Linked DNA regions of Homo sapiens: region 1 is linked to region 2. Evidence: promoter capture Hi-C in 16 types of primary human blood cells and fetal thymus (Javierre and others, 2016). All regions are on one chromosome and are shown on one strand. Each heading gives the region's core, a stretch centred on a gene start or on the middle of the fragment in contact. The rest is flanking DNA. Distances are from core to core; before and after follow the strand shown.

The links. The method cuts DNA at HindIII sites, captures the fragments that hold promoters and counts their contacts. A CHiCAGO score of 5 or more calls a contact.
Region 1: a fragment that was not itself captured here is called in contact with the fragment with the promoter of PDHA1 in region 2 in 4 of 17 cell types (M0 macrophages, megakaryocytes, M2 macrophages and 1 more); the score reaches 5.6 in M0 macrophages.

Annotation. Positions count from the first base shown.
Region 1 is chrX:18,913,429-18,917,323 of GRCh38, reverse strand. All of the region lies in intron 19 of PHKA2 (phosphorylase kinase regulatory subunit alpha 2), which reads left to right. It also overlaps the pseudogene RN7SL48P. Among named protein-coding and RNA genes, the nearest start is that of PHKA2-AS1, 25 kb to the right of the region's middle. The HindIII fragment of the contact is 2,996 bases long and covers 599-3,594 here.
Region 2 is chrX:19,341,449-19,345,385 of GRCh38, reverse strand. PDHA1 (pyruvate dehydrogenase E1 subunit alpha 1) reads right to left here and starts at 1,459. Exons shown (of 11, transcript NM_000284.4): 1 at 1,292-1,459. The coding sequence starts at 1,348. The HindIII fragment of the contact is 3,035 bases long and covers 1-2,508 here.

The DNA.
Region 1 (3,895 bases), core at 847-3,346, 430 kb after region 2:
TCGTGCCACTACACTCCAGCCTGGGTGACAGAGCAAGACCCTGTCTCAAAAAAAAAAAAAAAAGACATTTTTTTGCAGATTTTTGAAAGTATGACTTATTGTCTTCTTGCTATCAGTGTGTTGGTGTTGCTGTTGAGAAATCTAAACCTGGGCAGGCACAGTGGCTCATGCCTATAATCTGAGCAATCTGGGAAACTGAGGCAGGAAGATCGCTTGAGTCCAGGAATTTGAGACCAGCCTGGGCAAGATAGTGAGGCCCTGTCTCTACAAAAAATAGAAAAAATAGCCAGGCATGGTGGCACATGCCTGTAGTCCCAGCTACTTGGGAGTCTGAGGCAGGAGGATCACTTGAGCTCAGGGAGGTTGAGGTTGCAGTGAGCTGTGATCACACCACTGCACTCCAGCCTGAGTAACAGAACGAGAACCTGTCTCAAAAAAAAAAAAAAATGTATTAGCCCATTCTTGCATTGCCATAAAGAAATACCTGAGACTGGGTAATTTATAAAGAAAAGAGGTCTAATTGGCTCAGGGTTCTGCCGGCTGTACAGGAAGCATGATGCTGGCATCTACTTGGCTTCTAGGGAGGCCTCAGGAAGCTTCCAGTCATGACGGAAGACAAAAGGGGAGCAGACACTTCACATGGCGACAGTAGGAACAAGAGAGAGTGGTCACACACTTTTGAACAACCAGATCTCATATCCCTTGTGAACTCAGAGTGAGAGCTCACTTATCACCAAGGGGATGGCCCAAGCCATTCATGAGGGACCCACCCCCATGATCCAAACACCTCCCACCAGGCCCCACCTCCAACACTGGGGATTACATTTCAACATGAGATTTGAGTGAGACATTCAAACCATATCAGAAATTAAACCCATTCTGATTGTTTGAGACAAGAGTATCACTCTGTCGCCCAGGCCAGAGTGCAGTGGCTCGATCTCAGCTCACTGCAACCTCCGCCTCCTGGGTTCAAGCGAGCCTCCTGGGTTCAAGCGATTCTCCTGCCTCAGCCTCCCAAGTAGCGGGGATTACAGGCACCCACCATCACATCCGGCTAATTTTTGTATTTTTAGTAGAGACAGGGTTTCACCGTGTTGGCCAGGCTGGTCTTGAACTTCTGACCTCAGGCAATCTGCCCTCTTGGGCCTCCCAAAGTGCTGGGATTACAGGCGTGAGCCACCGTGCCCGGCTCATTCTGATTTTTGATACTTCAAATATGAGCTGTTTTTCTCTTTGAAAGTGTTTAGGATCTTCTCTGCTCCCGGCTTCTGACATCTCAGTGCTGCACCTTAATCTCTATCTGGGTGTGTTTTCATCCATTGTGTTGGATACACACTGGGCCTTTCCAATCTGGAAATTTGTTTTTCAGTCCTGTAAAGTTTTCCTAAAAAGTTTCTTGACTCATTTCCTGCCCAACATTTTCTCTGTTCTTTCTTTCTGGTGTTCCTATGATTCCAAAGTTGACTTCCTAGAGAAGACTTTATCATTTTTTTCCCTCTGTTTTCCATTTTTCTGTCTTGTCCTGAAAGCCATTGTCTCAACTTTTTGTTCCATCCCCTCAATTTAGCCACTTTTGCTATCATGTTTTAAATCTTTGTTCCCCAAATTGTGTCTGTTTTTGTTTCACGTTTACAATATAATTTCTTGGCCAGACGCAGTGGCTGATGCCTATAATCCCAGCACATTGGGAGGCCAAGACAGGCGGATTCCTTGAACCCAAGAATTCTGGACCAGCCTGGGCAACGTAGCAAGACACTGTCTGTACAAAAAAAAAAAAAAAAAAGATTAGCCAGGCGTGGTGGTGCATGTCTGTGATCCCAGGTACTTGGGAGGCTGAGGTGGGAGGATCGCATGAGTCCGGGAGGTTGAGGCTGCAGTGAGCCATGATCATGCCACTGCACTCCAGCCTGGGTGACAGAGCGAGACCCTGTCTCAAAAAAATAGTAAAAATACAGTATAATTTCTTTTTCTGAAAGAGAGAAAGAAAAGGTCCTGCTCTGTCACCCAGGCTGAAGTGCAGTGGCATGATCATGGCTCACTGCAGCCTTCACCTCCCAGGCCCAAGCGATCCCCCTACCTCAACCTCCCAAGTAGCTGGGACCACAGGTGCATGCCACCACACCCAGCTAATTTTTATTTTTATTTCTGTGGAGACAGGGTTTCACCATGTTGCCCAGGCTGGTCTCAAACTCCTGACCTCAAACGATCTGCCTGCCGTGGCTTCCCAAAGTGCTGGGATTACAGGCATGAGCCACCATACCTGGCAATTTGTTATTATTCTAAGAATATTAATGGCAGGGCTTTTTGTTTTGGTTTGTATATACCCTTTTTACTCTTTGAATGGTTTCCATTCCCCCAAGTCACCTTTTCCGGTTTGCTTAGGTTTCTGTCTTCCACATGAGCGTCCTCCTTCAAATGCCCTGCTCCTCCTCGCTTACCTGGTCATGCATGAGAATCTCCAAGCCCATGGGTGGGGCTTGTTGACTCGGAGTTATTTGATTTCCCAGAGATACTCTACAATCTCCTAGTGGATTTCCTATTTCAAGGATTAGGGCCTGGTTGCCTGGAGCTATATAGTTACTTATAATTCCCTTAAGGAATGTATCTACGCCTTCAGATGTGCTAATCAGCAGCCCCTCTCTCTTCGAGCCCCTTCCTCCTTTACCCTCTTCTGAGAGACCCTCCAGTCTTCTGTCAGAGTGAGTGAGGTGGTCATCAAGCTGGGTGTAGTTGAAGCGGATGTCCAGGGAGCTCACTGCTTCTCAGATAGCTTCTCCCCAGCCTTCCTTGTTTTGGACACCCCTTCTAGGCCCCAGTTCCAGAAGCACATAGTGCAGCAGGCCCCAGGGACTTCTGATGAGCCTTGGGTGTAACTGACCAGCTCTCGGATTTCTCCACTGCAGACTTGGGAATTGGTTGCCTTGTGTCAGCTAAATCACTTATCTTTCATCTGTCAGCTTTCCCGCTTCTGAAATTCTGTTCCTGTCGTCTTCTTTCTTGTTTTTCTTCATTCTCAAGGATTTGTCTTTTAAAAAAAAATATATACAGTTATGCACCACATAACTTTTTGGTCAATGGCAGACCGCATATATGGCGGTGGTCCCCTAAGATTATAATGGAGCTGAAACCTTTCTGTCACCTAGTGACATCGTAGCTGTAGTGACTTTGTAGCACCATGCACTGCTCACATGTTTGTGGCGATGCCAGTATCAGTAAACCTCCTGCGCTGCCAGTCGTGTACAGGTCTAGCACATACAATTATGTATAGTACATAATACTTGATAATACATAAGTATGTTGCTGGTTTGCGTATTTAGAGTGTACTCCTTTTACTTATTAAAAAACGTTAACTGTGAAACAGCCGCAGACCAGTTCTTCAAGAGGGATTACAGGAGAAAGCATTGTTATCTTAGGAGATGACAGCTCCATGTACATTACTGCCCCTGAAGACCTTCCAGTGGGACAAGCTGTGGAGGTGGAAGCAGTGATGGATGATCCTGGCCCTGCATAGGCCTAATGTGTGTGTTTGTGTTTTCATTTTTTAAAAAAAGTTTAAAAAGTAAAATAAATAAAACTAAAAAATAGATCAAAGCTTATAGAATAAGGACGTAAAGAAAATATTTTTGTGGGCCGGCTGTGGTGGCTCATGCCTGTAATCCCAGCACTTTAGGAGGCCCAGGTGGGTGGGTCAGGAGTTCAAGACCAGCCTGGCTAACATGGTGAAACCCTGTCTCTACTAAAAATACAAAAATTAGCTGGGCGTGGAGGCACACACCTGTAATCCCAGCTACTCGGGAGGCTGAGGTGGGAGAGTCGCTTGAACCAGGGAGGTGGAGGTTGCAGTGAGCCGAGATCGCACCACTGCAGTCCAGCCTGGGCAACAAGGCGAGACTCC
Region 2 (3,937 bases), core at 210-2,709:
TTGGCCAGGCTGATCTCGAACTTCTGACCTCAGGTGATCCACCTGCCTCAGCCTCCCAAAATGCTGGGATTACAGGCCTGAGCCACCGCACCCGGCAGTTTTGTCATTATTTTAGGCAACAGGATTCCTAGAGGGGCATACCTCTTACCTTTTGACAATCTCTGCCTGTACTAAGTAGAGCGGTATCAAGTCCTGGGGGAAATACCAGAATCCCGAGGCCTGCAGTTACACCAATTAACACGACCTCACTGTGCCTAGGGGGGTCAGAATGCTAGCTCAGGTGTTAGGCACCTCTAAATGCTGAGGCCATGAAATAGTGCTAAACTCTACCCCCCACCCCTCAAGCATCGTTGCTCTTTGCTTTAGCTACTTGTACCCTAAGAATGTGTAGGTAAGGGGAGGGGAGGGCAGCGTCCTCTGAGTTCTGCTTCGGCGCTCCTGAACTCACTGCCAAGAAAAGCTCAGATGTTGAGGGAGAGGGAAGAGGAGGAAGTTTGTTTCTGAAGAGGCTGACCTTCTGTGAACCCGCCTCAGAACTGAGCACAGGTGTTCAAGAAATGTATACCGAACTGGAGACTCAATAAATAACACTATTCAACACACATGTTATCGATTATGTGCCAGGTGCTATTTGGAATCGTTTCCACACGTGTCACTCGTTGAATCCTCAAGACAACCCCAAGAGGTGGGGACTCTTATTATCTCCATTTTAGAGTTAACTGATAACATTTCAGAGATAACTCTTATCTCCATTTAGAGATTAACTCCACTTCGAGCAAACATTTTAGGAAACCGGGTCCCCGGGACGTTTAAAAACTTGCTCAAGGTCACAGGGCTAGTCAATGGTGAGGGTGCTGTTTGAACGAAGCCACCCTGTCTCCAGATTCTACGCTATTACAAAGCCTCTCGGTCAAGAGAAATTAAGTTAGAAGATCCGAAATGAGTGGGGTCAATTGGAGACTCGAAGGAGGCCGAGGCCACCCTTTCCGTGTCCTGTAACCCAACAGGCACCTCTTGAGCACACCGACTTCGCCTGGCGCACAGCTGGGCCCGGGGGCGGGAGGTGGGTGTCGAGAAGGGGGAAGTTCACACGGACCTTGGCGTGATCCCGGTCCGTGCCGCTTCTCCCGAGGCCAGGAACGGAATGCAGGGCGCGGAGGCGAAGTAAAGGCTCCCCGGCTCCCCTGGCGCCTTCCACCCCGCTCTGGGTGGCCCGGCCTGGCCCGCCCTGCCCTCCGGCCCCGCCTCAGCCCCACTCGCGCCCCATCCCGGCCCGCCCGGGAGGTCTCACCGGCTTCTGAGAAGCGCCAGACAGCACGCGGGAGACGGCGGCGAGCATCTTCCTCATGAAGCACAGGCAGTGGCGGCAGCGGCGACTCCTCACAACCCAGGAGGCACGACGCGGGTGCCCCCAAGTCTCCTTCAGGTGCCCCAGCAGACGCCACGCCTCAGTCGCACCGCGGCGTGACAGAGTCGTAATAACGTCATGCGCTGCGCCGGGCCGCGGGCCAACCAGAACGGCGTCCAGGGGGTGCCCCGCCCCCGCTAAAGGCCTGAGGCTGCCCATTGGGTATCAGCGCCAGAGAGGGAGGGGCTGAGGGCTCTTTCCGACGCCACGCCGCGGGCGGGTGAGGAGGCGGGGCTTGATAGCGCCTGCGTGGGAAGGTGGGGCCCCCGCCTCCAGGGCGCCGCGGGAAAGGAGCCTTCCTAGATTCCGCTCTGCTGACTACCGGGGAGGTTGTGCAGGCCCCGTCCTACCGAGCGCCTACTCCTGCCGGTGCTGCAGCTCTGCAGCCCTCGTTCAGTACATCTCGTTCAGTACACTAGATGATGAAGATTAGCAGCATGCTCAGAGCCAAAAGACAGAACATCTGGTTTCTGTAAATGGTCTGCCACTAACTTTGTCTTTAAAAGATCACGTAGCAGTTGGACAGTTCTGCCCTGTCTACTTGAACGCGGATCAAAAAATTTGTTTCCCAATATATGTCGAGAGGACAATGGGAAAAATCTTTTTTCTCTAGTTATTGGTTCACAGGCTCACTGCGAGTTAACAGCGTGGCTCAGCCGATGATAAAAGCACACACAGAGACAAAACACCAAAGCAACAAGGGGCTCTATTCAGAGGATCAAAGGGCTCAGGAACCCATTGTGTTGTGTCCTAGTGGGATTGCACCTGGGGTTCCGGGTTCAGATTTGGGCTCCACATTTTAAGGGGGATAATGAGTAAACTGAGTGGAATCCAGGGGACAGTGGTCAGAACGGTGAGGGGCTGCGATTGTGACTTATGAAGAACGATTAAAGAAGTTAGGAAGAAAACAGGCTAACTAGAATTGGCTGGGTTATGATGTAACAACTGACCTCCAAATTTCAGTGATTTCAAGAATTTGAAGTGACGCGAGCCATCGTACTCGTAACACAGGTCCCTCACAGCGTGGCACCCTCTCTCTGGAACTTAGCTTGTCTCATGGATGAAGAGAAAAGGGATCATTTAAACCGGCTCTCAAAGCTTCTGCCCAGAAGTGACACATGTCACTTCCTCTCAATTTTCACGGACCAGAGCTAGTTACCCGACCATGTCTGAGTTCCACAAGGTGAAATATAATCCTCCTGCCAGGAGGAGAACAGAAAATTGGATGAACAGTAAAACCAGAGAGGATTGGATATGTCTTCACACATTTTCAGGCCAGTCATGTTCCAGGAGGAAGAGCTATTTTGTGTGTGTGTGTGTGTGTGTGTGAATAAAATCATTTCATTTCAGCATAACAATGAATTTTCTAACAATGACAATGGTCCAATGAGATAATTCTCTCCCAGTGTCACTGAAAGTATTCAAAGCAGAAGTTCAAAGCATGACCAGCTCTCAGCATAGCTAGAGAAATAATTTGGGCACTGGGCCAGACTCTGGACTGAGAGATCGTGTTGCAGTGGAAGAAAACTTCTTAAAGGAGTGAGAGGGCGCCATTAAAAGGCAGAGATGGACGTGAGAAACTTGCATGGTATGATTTCAGCAGCTGCTGCTGCTGATAGAATATGAAAGGTAAAAGAGAATGAAAAGGTTGGAGGCCAGATGTCCAGCTCAGGAGAAAAAGCTGGTCTGAATGGTTTGGGACATGTTGACCTGGTGGTGGCAGTGGCACAGCTATCTGAAGATGTCCCCCGGGAAGTTGGAGTTGTAAGTCTGGAACATTTGCTAAAAATATTAATTTGGGAGTCATCTCCACGGGGTGGTGATATTGGTTGTGCATGTACGGGAACTCTGTAGGCCATATGAATATGAATTCATTCATTCATTTGCTCATTCATCCAACACCTATTATTGAGCACCGATTTTGTGTCAGACACTGTACTACACACTGAAGATATAGCAAGGAACAAGTAAAATATAGGTCCTACTTAAATACATGATTGAACAAATCAATGGGTTAGAAGGAACAACTTTTCCTTACAGTAGAATTCCAATTAATTAATATAGAAGGAATGATGAAAATAGAAAAAGAAAATCACCATTTGGCAAAGACCACAGTAACTGTTGCAGGTGAGAATTATCATCAATACAGGCTAAAATTAGTGGGTAAATGTATGATGAGAAACAGGACATTTGCCTCATCTCAAATGATCTCTCCACTAGATTCATTACAAAGTTTAAAGTAACTTTGCAGTGCAGAAACAAAGTAACCAATTTTTCAATGACTAGGATATTTTCTCTGCACTTCTTGTTCTTCATATATATACATATATATACACACATACGTGTATATATATATATTTTATTTATTTATTTTTTTGAGACAGAGTCTCGCTCTGTCGCCCAGGCTGGAGTGTAGTGGTGCAATTTCAACTCACTGCAAGCTCCGCCTCCCAGGTTCACGCCATTCTCCTGCCTCAGCCTCCCGAGTAGCTGGGACTACAGGTGCCCGCCACCACGCCCGGTTAATTT